Regions from separate parts of the Homo sapiens genome. Here region 2 is linked to region 1. Evidence: promoter capture Hi-C in 16 types of primary human blood cells and fetal thymus (Javierre and others, 2016). All regions are on one chromosome and are shown on one strand. The core of a region is centred on a gene start or on the middle of the fragment in contact, and the rest is flanking DNA. Distances in the headings are between cores, read along the strand shown.

The links. The method cuts DNA at HindIII sites, captures the fragments that hold promoters and counts their contacts. A CHiCAGO score of 5 or more calls a contact.
Region 2: a fragment that was not itself captured here is called in contact with the fragment with the promoter of OGFOD2 in region 1 in 1 of 17 cell types (fetal thymus); the score reaches 5.0 in fetal thymus.

Annotation. Positions count from the first base shown.
Region 1 is chr12:122,973,243-122,976,772 of GRCh38, forward strand. OGFOD2 (2-oxoglutarate and iron dependent oxygenase domain containing 2) reads left to right here and starts at 2,002. Exons shown (of 7, transcript NM_001304833.2): 1 at 2,002-2,141; 2 at 2,569-2,625; 3 at 3,412-3,525. The coding sequence starts at 2,010. It also overlaps a transcript of ABCB9 not described here. RefSeq lists an enhancer at 1,447-1,906. The HindIII fragment of the contact is 5,440 bases long and covers 1-2,927 here.
Region 2 is chr12:123,384,663-123,391,362 of GRCh38, forward strand. KMT5A (lysine methyltransferase 5A) reads left to right here. Exons shown (of 8, transcript NM_020382.7): 2 at 4,771-4,892; 3 at 5,968-6,124. Among named protein-coding and RNA genes, the nearest start is that of KMT5A, 3.9 kb to the left of the region's middle. RefSeq lists an enhancer at 1-100 and silencers at 4,112-4,471, 4,892-5,001. The HindIII fragment of the contact is 6,467 bases long and covers 1-6,127 here.

The DNA.
Region 1 (3,530 bases), core at 752-3,251:
TGGCCAACATGGCGAAATCCCGTTTCTACTAAAAATACAAGGCCGGGCGCGGTGGCTCACGCCTGTAATCCCAGCACTTTGGGAGGCCGAGGCGGGTGGATCATGAGGTCAGGAGATCGAGACCATCCTGGCTAACAAGGTGAAACCCCGTCTCTACTAAAAATACAAAAAATTAGCCGGGCGCGGTGGCGGGCGCCTGTAGTCCCAGCTACTCGGGAGGCTGAGGCAGGAGAATGGCGTGAACCCGGGAAGCGGAGCTTGCAGTGAGCCGAGATTGCGCCACTGCAGTCCGCAGTCCGGCCTGGGCGACAGAGCGAGACTCCGTCTCAAAAAAAGAAAAAAAAAAAAAAAAAAAAAAAAAAAAAAACAAAAACTTTGGGAGGCCGAGGCAGGGGGACCACGAGGTCAGGAGATCAAGACCATCCTGGCTAACACGGTGAAACCCCGTCTCTACTAAAAACATAAAAAATTAGCCGGGTGTGGTGGCGGGCGCCTGTAGTCCCAGCTACTCGGGAGGCTGAGCCAGGAGAATGGCGTGAACCCGGGAGGCAGAGCTTACAGTGAGCCGAGATCGTGCCACTGCACTCCAGCCTGGGCGACAGAGCAAGACTCCGTCTCAAAACAAACAAACAAACAAACAAAAAACAAAAAAATTAGCTGGGCGTGGTGGCGCCTGCCGATAATCCCAGCTATTCGGGAGGCTGAGGCAGGAAAACTGCTTGAATCCGGGAGGCAGAGGTTGCAGTGAGCGGAGATCGCGCCACTGCACTCCAGCCTGGGTGAAACTCTATCTCAAAAAGTAAATAAACAAATAAATAAACTGATAGGTACAACACACTCATCTTGCAAACTGCTGCAAACGGAGAGGGGGTGAGGGTGGGGTGGGGTGCTGCATGTGCCAGGCCTGCCTGGTGGGTGGCTGGGGAGCCGACCTGCCCTGGGCCTCCTGGGGAAAAAGGGCAGTTAGGCGGGTAATGAACATTGATCTGGGGAAATGGATCCTTTCCTAGATAGCAGGGCCTCTCACTATCACTGGGCAATCAAGACGACTGTAAAACGTTAAACACCTTCTCGGGCCGGGCAGCTCTGCACGAGAAAACCCCAAATCCCACATACTTCCACCACTCCCAGAAGCCCTGTGGTGGTTAACTGGGGAACTCTGTAGGGTTCAAACGCCATATTTGCCCCTTACTGGATGTGTGACCTGCGGCGGGTCCCTGTGCCTCTCTGGGTCTCAGTTTCCTCATCTGTAAGACGGTGATATAATAGTACCTAGCTCAAAGGTTTAATGCTGGTAGATTCCTGAGCAAAGGTCCGGGGAGAGAAGAGGCTCGGTCTGCAAGAGTTGTCATTTGTTGGCTGCGGTGAGACCACGCCCCGTCGCCCTCCCACACCTGACCCCGCCCTCCCGCGTCCATTGGGAACGCCACCGGAAGTAATGCGAGACGGAGCGTTTTGGTGGAGACACTCACTGGGGCAATCTGAGGTAATCCAACAGACTGTGGCGGAGGGACCGGAAGCGCCAGGCAGGGACCCGGGGTAGATGCTAAATCCAAACTGAAACGTACAGGGCTGGATGATTGAAGCACCAGCGGGAACTAGTCGGACCTCCGAGCTCTTTAAACTGTCCTCAGCTCGGCTGGTTCTCCACGAGCTCCGGGCAGACGGCGGGGGGTGGGTCGGCGTTTAAGTCAAAGGCCTTGGGGCTCCGAGTCCCTTCCTCTCCCCGTCCTGTGAAGGCACGACCCAGTTCAGCTGTCTGTAAAGTGGAGCCATTAGTCCCTGCCTCGTAGTGGGAAAACTGGGAGGCGGAACGAGGAGGCCGCCGGTCCCAACCCGGCCCAGGAGCATCTTTCTCCGCAGACCGTTTCCTGGCGAGGTGCGTCTTCGTCCTTTTCCGCCCTTGGGAACTTAGAGCGGCCCCTTGGCCGCTGGTTCCGCGCCTCCCGCGGTTGGGGGCGTGCCCGAAGTCTCTCTACGGAAGCTGGTAGGGCTGTGGGTGCTTCACTATGGCGACGGTGGGGGCTCCGCGGCACTTCTGCCGCTGCGCCTGCTTCTGCACCGATAACTTGTACGTGGCGCGCTATGGGCTGCACGTGCGCTTCCGAGGCGAGCAGCAGCTGCGCCGGGACTACGGCCCGGTGAGTGGCCGCTGTCGTCCCTACGGAGCAGTGGGCAGAGAGGGGTAGTGGAGGAGGGAAGTTCGTCCCCAGGGTCGTTTGCTTTGCGCACGCCGCGCACCGTATCTTCAAATACAAGAATGACGGCCTCTCTCTGCCTCGGTTTTCTCACCGTAAAGGGGTAATAGTATCTCCCTGTGAGATTGTGAGGAAGGAATGAACAAGCATGTAGGGTGCTTAGGACAGGGCCGGGCTCAGCTTGCCGCCTCACAGCAACACCAGCCCGGAGCCCTGTCCTGAGCTTGACAGGGTTCCGCAGTTCATTCTCTCCATGATCCTTTGAGGTCGGGGCTCCTCTCCCCATTTTAAGCAGGGGAAACTGAGGCTTAGAGAGTGAAGGGATTTCCTCAGGTCATACAGTCATGCTCAGTGTTCTTTCTGCTCCCAGATCCTGCGCAGCCGAGGCTGTGTTAGCGCCAAGGACTTCCAGCAGCTGTTAGCAGAGGTACCAGTCCCCTGCCCCTGCACAGCTCCTCCTCGTTAGATTTGTGTCCGCAGCTTGAGGACACAGCTTGAGCCTAGCCTCAGTCCCTGATCCCTGAAGGGTCACTTAGGCCCTCACTTTCCTCCTTCCTGCCCCCCACTCATCCCTCCACACCTGAGTCTTGGCACCAGGAGAGAGAAGGGGAAATGCTAAGTTGCTAAGTTGCCTAGTCATGCCGTTCTTAACAGCTCTGTGAGATAAGCACAAGCACCACTCTCATTTTGGATTGAGAAGCTGAGGCTTAAAGAGGGATCCCTTGCCCAAGCTTTTACAGCAGGAGCAGATGTGATCCCAGCCACAGCTTCCAGGCCCCTGGGCTCCTCACACCTTACCATATACCCCGCAGGCTGCTGCCAGGGCTGCTGCCCCACTCCCTCCTCCTCCTTCCCCTGGAGTCAGTGGTGGGAAGCTTCCCAGGAGAGTCCTCAGCAACCTCTGGAACACAGGACTTGGCCATGACTGTCTCCTGTCCCTGTGTGGGCCCAGATGGTTGAGGTACATCTAGGGGTTCTCATCCCAGCTAGGCTCAGGTTGGGGCAGCCTGAAACAGGATGGGTCCCCTTCTAGAAGTCCCTTTCAGCTAACAGTCTGGAACTTGCAGTTGACCCAGATAGATTCAGGAGTGTAGGCTAGACTTGGCTTCCAGCCTGGGCCCTGTCTGGCGTTCTGGGCTTCAGTTTCTTCATCTGTACAGTGGCCTCAGGAGGATGGGAGGCCCCACCTGGTAACAACCCTGTGCCACCCCAGCTTGAGCAGGAGGTGGAGCGGCGGCAGCGGCTGGGGCAGGAGTCAGCAGCTAGGAAAGCCCTCATCGCGAGTTCCTACCACCCGGCACGGCCTGAGGTCTACGACTCACTGCAGGTACC
Region 2 (6,700 bases), core at 1,644-4,143, 410 kb after region 1:
GTCAGGGTGGACACCGCAGCAGGCGCCTTTCCTCCCTCCCCACGTCCTGAGTCAGCTCTGCGCCGCTGGAGCGAAGGCCGGGCCCCGCTGGCCCACTTTGGGGTAAAACGGGTTCCTGGCATCTCGCGGGCGCGGTCGTTCGCCCCGCATCTGGTCAGGACTTCGCCCCCCGGTAGATGGCTTGGGTGGGCTTGTACAGCCCTGGGAGGCGATGCCCTGTCTGAAGTCCTCTGCATACTTAGTTGGCTGTCAGGACAGTGCCTCCCAGGTATGCGGCAAAGAGATCTCCAACCGCTTGGTCATTTCCAGCCACTGCGTCTCCTTCACGCCAAAGGGCCAAAAACTTGAGCGTGAAAGTTGAGTAGAATTAGTATTAAAAAAAAAAAAAAGTTTTGGTATTATATTTTTCTCAAAATTTCAAGGCTTCAAGTGTTAGTAGGAATTTGCTTTAGTGCAGTATGCTCCCTATAGCAATAATAATGAATAAAATAATGATTCATTCAGTAAATATCTATTGGGTCCCTTTGTTTTCAGGCCCTGAAGTCAGTTGCATCATCTATTCTCCTAGCATCCCTAGAGGTTCTTTTGGGATAAGACTTACCCAGAGCCTGATGAAAAAATGAGGCATAGTAAACTTCAGGTTAAAGAGCTTCATCACTCAACTCTTGGAGAAAATTAATACTAATATTTTTCCTTTGAAAAGTGTTAAGCATCTAAAAGTATATTTAACATTATCTGACTAATTTATCTGACAAATTTTAATAAAACTATGCTTCCTGGGTTCATTTTTCTCATCACAGCAAAATCATTTAAACTACTTGTTTTAAAAGTAGTGCATTAATTAATATATGAAGAAAACTAACCATCTATCATTGAAATACTTAAAATATGACTAAATAATAATTATGGCCAGGCATGGTGGCTCACACCTGTAATCCTAGCACTTTGGGAGGCCAAGGCGGGCAGATCACCTGAGGTCGGGAGTTCGAGACCAGTCTGACCAACATGGAGAAATCCCGTCTCTACTAAAAATACAAAATTAGCCGGGCATGGCAGCGCATGCCTGTAATCCCAGCTACTTGGGAGGCTGAGGCAGGGAGAATTGCCTGAACCTGGGAGGTGGAGCTTGCAGTGAGCCGAGATTACGTCACCGCACTCCAGCATGGGCAACAGAGCAAGACTCCATCTCAAAAAAACAAACAAGAACAATAACAAAATAATAATAATTACCACTGAGGGCCAGGCACTTTATTAACTCAATTGATCTTTACAAATTGTTATTCTCATTTTTTGGAAGAGGAAGCGTGAAGTCCAAACTTGCTGTCCAGACTCTAGCTTGGCTGGGTCTTTGCTTGTGCCACCCAACCTCCCTTACTTACCCAAAGCGAAGATAATGTTTGTCAGCTCCTCCCATGGCAGCTTACAAATCACCTATGTAATTATTAGTTATTGATTCTCACTGTCTCACTTGACCCCCAAATTAGTAGTTACCTGTTTCTTAGGCTTTACTGCCCTTGCAAGCTATTAAATTGGATATTTAGATTTAGATTTTTTTTTTTTTTTTTTTTTTTGAGACAGAGTCTCTCTCTGTCACCCAGGCTGGAGTACAGTGGAGTGATTTCAGCCCGCTTCACCCTCCCTCTCCTGTGTTCAAGTGATTCTTGTGCCTCAGCTTCCCAAGTAGCTGGGATTACAGGCACCTGTCACCACACCCAGCTAATTTTTGTATTTTTAGTAGAGACGGGGTTTCGCCATGTTGGCCAGGCTAGTCTTGAACTCCTGACCTCAGGTTATCTGCCCACCTCGGCCTCCCAGAGTGCTGGGATTACAGGCAAAAGCCACCACGCCTGGCCAATATTTAGAATTGTAAATACCAAATCATTTACAGCACTTCAAATGAACAGTCTTTTTCTTCTAGAAAATTGGGCTTTGAACTTGCAATTCACTTTGAGAGCCCTGCTGGGTCACAGAAACAAACTGGTCAGATGCCAGGCAACACCTCACTCATTTTGAAGTTTTATAATCATGCAAATATTTACAACCCCAATATATTAGTCTCAGGGGTCAGTCCACCTACCTTTCACTATTTCTACTGCCATTGTTGAATGGTCTCTTGGTTGGTTGCCCTCCTCATTTTGCCATCTTCAGTTCATTATCCCTTAGCACCTGGTGGGGGGGTCTCCAAAAATACAGACTTTTCTTTTTTTTTGGGAGACAGAGTCTCACTCTGTCACCCAGGATAGAGTGCAGTGGCACAATCTTGGCTCACTGCAAACTCCACCCCCCTGGGTTCAAGTGACTCTCCTGCCTCAGCCTCCCAAGTAGCTGGGATTACAGGCATGCGCAACCACGCCAAGCTAATTTTTGTATTTTTAGTAGAGACGGGGTTTCGCCATGTTGGCCAGGCTGGTCTCAAACTCCTGATTTCAGGTGATTTGCCCTCCTCTGCCTCCCAAGGTGCTGGGATTACAGGTGTGAGCCACTGCGCCCAGCTGGTGTATTTGTTATATACGTATAAACTTGCGGAGAAAGGACTGTTTTGAAACTTACATTGAATGATCTGTATTTACATCTTCTAGGTACTGGAGCTGCAGAATTGAGAGGAATAGGTGCTAGACTTGTAATGTGTCCCCTGCAATTGGGGGCTCAAATGCAGAGAAAGCTATGACCATGAGTGGGGCGTGGGGTGTGGCTCGGTATACTAGAATGTGAAATGGATAAGATGATCTATGTGGGTGCTTCCTGCTCCAAAACCATGATTCTCATGGCAGTTAAGCTGCAAAACTTCTCTGCCTTGCAGAAATAGAAGACGCTTTCAAATGGCTCAACCTGGTTATCAGAGTGTCACTTTCGAATCCTCTTTCACCCTCTGGGTAATCTTTTGGATATTCAACTGTAGTAGGCTCTGCAGAGGGCATAGGCAGAGTACCTAGCCCACTGGAGTTAGTGGTTGGGCTGGAGACCCTGCCTTGAAGGATGCTAAAGCATGAGCTGATTTGGGAGGGATTGTCTGAGCAGTGACCTGTCACCACCTAATCCTACTCAGTCTTATCCGTTCCAATGGGAGTCGAGGGAGGCTAGGTGGGAGGATGGCTACAAACAGCCATTTGCTTATCTGTGGATGTTGGAAGGTGCTCTGGTGGATTATGGAATTCAAGGTTCTTGGTTTTTACCCATGAGGACACTGAGGCCCAGACTGGGGAAGTGACTTGGCGATGGTCACAAAACACCTCTGGGCAGATGCAGGGAAATAAGTCCAGCCCCTGACTCCCAGGCCATGGGCCAGGCTGCAGGAGCTGGATGCCTTGAAGTGTCTTGTTTGCATCTATGACTTTGCACAAATACAGTGAATCTGGCTGTGGGCCCTCAAGCCTTAATGGCCACAGAGTAGTGGTGCAGGGCAGTGAGCTATGCTGAAACAGCCACCAGAGTGACGGGAACCTCGTCTGCCTATGGGGGCATTTTCTCACGGCGGGATAGGAGAACAAGGTGACATGTTAAACCCTTCTGCAAGACCATTTGCTTCTCCCAAACTCCATTTCCTCATCTGTAACCAGGAAGGGTAGTGGCTGGGAGGGCAAGGCCCTGGGGTCAGTTGGCTGGGGCTGAAAACCCATCTAGTTCTGAGAACTTGGCCAAGCTCCTCACTTTCTCCATCTGTTGAAAAGAGATAATAATGGTGTCTACCTTTGCAGGGCTGCTGTGAGGTTTCAGTGAGATAACGGCAAGAGACTCGCCCAGGAAACCGATCATTATAACCCCTGGCTCTGTCTCCCCAGGGCTTCCTACCGGTCAAGTACAGCCCTTCTGGGTTTGACACCTGGCCCCATCACTTCCTAGTTCTGTGGCCCGGGACAAACCCCTGCACATCCCTTGAGTCACAGTGTCACCATTGTAAGCTGGGATGCCGACAGGACCTGCCCCCGTGGGCGTGCGGGGAGGATTCAATGCCTGTGAAACTCTCGGTGGGCACAGCGCCGGGCACACCCGAGGGCCTGGCCTGGCGCGTTCACCGCTGCTGATTTCGTCTGGCACAGACCGGGTTCCCAAAATATCCGCAGAGCCAGCGGAAAAAGGAGCCGGGCGGGCTGGCGGGAGGGCGGGCGGGAGCCTGGGCTGTCATGACGGTGTTTCCCACCCCTTCCTCCGCGAGTGGCTGAGGCCGCGCGAGAGGGGGCGCGCCCGAGCCGGGATTCGCCGCGCCCGCCCGCCCGCCCTCCGGAGCGGCCTGGCGGCGCCGCCCCTACCAGCCCCCTCCCCGGGCCGGGCGCCGGACGGTGGGCGGCTGCGAGCGGGCGGGAGGGCTGCGGAGGACGCGCCGCCTGCGCCTCCTTCCCTTCGTGCCTCGCCCCGGGCGGCCCGGGGCTGCCGCGGTGCGCGGGTGCCGGGCCCTGCCTCGCCGGCCATGGGGGAAGGGGGCGCCGTGGGGCGCCGCCGGCCCTTCCCCGGGGCGCCGCGGCGGCGCTGGTGGCGGCGGCGAGGGCGCGGGGCGCGCCGCCATGGGCCTGGCCGGGCTGCAGGTGGGTGTGTCGGGCCCGGCCGCGCGGGGGGCGGGCGGCGCGCGGGGCCTGGCCGGGCCGGGCGGCGGGAGGGCGACGCGGGCTCCGGCCCGGCCCTCCCGGCTGCGCGGGCGGCTCACCAGAGCCGGGGCCTCGAAATATGGCTGCGGCGGGAGGCGCCGTCGCGGCGCCCGGCCCGGGCGGCCCCGCTCCCCGCCCCGCCGCGCCCTGAGCGCCCCCTCCCCCGCTTCCCCCGGGTCCCCTTCTCCAGGCAGGAAGATGTCCAAGCCCCGCGCGGTGGAGGCGGCGGCGGCGGCGGCGGCGGTGGCAGCGACGGCCCCGGGCCCGGAGATGGTGGAGCGGAGGGGCCCGGGGAGGCCCCGCACCGACGGGGTAAGCAGGCACCCTCCCCGCACCCCTGCGGCGCGCCCGCCGGGCCGGGGCCGCGAGCACATGGGCGACCCCGGGTACCCGCCCGGGGCGCCCGGCCGGGCCGCTTCCTTTGCTGCCGCCTGGCTGGGAGTGGCGCCCACACGGCTCCGCCATGAGCCTGGCGGTGTTTGACCTCGGAAAAGTTTGACTGCGCCTTCGTGGCGTCTCCGCAGCCCAAGACCCTACTTCCCCGGAGGTGGCCGCGGTCCCAGGCTGTGCGGGGCCTGCGCGGGCCCCTCGGAGAGGTCACGGGTCTCACCGCCTCGGTGTTGAATGGTCCCCGAGGCGGCGAGGGCCCGGCGTTGCTTCTGGGGACGCCCTCCTCCGTCTGTACTTACTCAGAGGAGGGGCCCCACGCCCAGAGGCGCCCGCAGTGACCTGAACCGCCCCACCGCCCCGTCCACTCTCTTACTGACGCCCAGGTGCGGCTTGCGACAAAGTGGCCGCCCCGAATGCGCTGGCTGTGGCTCCTGCTCTTCCCAGATTCCCCAGTCACCCTGAGAGAAGTCCTCCCGTCGCAGCCCTGGAGGCTGCGGGGCTGCAGTGATTTGAGAGGGGTCAGGCTCCGGCGCTCATGGGGCTCTGGCTGTGCTGACAGGCCCTCCAGCCGCCCTCAGCACCAAGTGGTTAATCAGGTTCCCCGGGGCGTGTTTCTGTGCTGAGTCCCTGCGGCTCCTGCCAGGGCAGTGAACTCCTAAAGATAGCCTAGCTCTTCACATGCCCAGGTCCTTTTGACCTCCCTGTTGCGGGTAGGCTGTCTTCTTCCTATATAGACCTTGGGTTGCAGCCGACTCTCCTGCTGGCCAGCTGTCCCCTTAGTGATTTAGAGACCAGCGCGTTTAGGAAACGTTTCACTGGACCTGGGATTCTAAACCTGCCAGTGCTCTCCTGAGACAATGGGGGCTGGCATCCCCTGGTAGCCCAGTTTTTGAAAAACGGTGTTGTCTGATTTTCATCTTTTGTATTCCTCCTCCTCGTGAATGCTCTAGGATCTTCTTCTTCAAGCCTCTTTCAGAATATGCTTTTGTCTTTTTAGGAGAACGTATTTACCGGGCAGTCAAAGATCTATTCCTACATGAGCCCGAACAAATGCTCTGGAATGCGTTTCCCCCTTCAGGAAGAGAACTCAGTTACACATCACGAAGTCAAATGCCAGGGGAAACCATTAGCCGGAATCTACAGGAAACGAGAAGGTAAGCTTTTGAAATGGCCTCGTTCTGATCCCAGCTGGTCGGGTTGCAGAAGCCTCTGTCCTCTGCAAGAATGCACATATGTATTTATCCAACCTTTTCAGTCTCAGATTCGAGAGGTTTGAGCCATGTTCTGTCTTGCTGCTGAAAGAATGGCTTGTCCCAGGGTGTGTGCCCTGTTGGTTTGACAGGTTTTCCCTGCTTTCACAAGAGTTAGCATATCCTTCAAGCTTGATTGTCTTGCTTAGTTGCAAAAATAACATACCTGACCCACAATTAGAGAGGCTCACAAGTGCTGAAAGTGCAGAAGTCATGAATTCAGGTTGTACAGACCAGGCAATTGCAGACCTAACTAATGTGTTCATGTAGGGAACTGACTTCCTTCCCTTTTATGAGCTGGCCTTGACCCCATTTCTTTTTCTTTTTTTGAGACGGATTTCCGCTCTCGTCCCTCAGGCTGAAGTGCAATGGCACGATCTCAGCTCACTGCAACCTCCGCCTCCTGGGCTCAAGCGATTCTTCTGCTGCAGCCTCCTGAGTAGCTGGGATTACAAGCGGCCGCCACCACGCCCAGCTAAT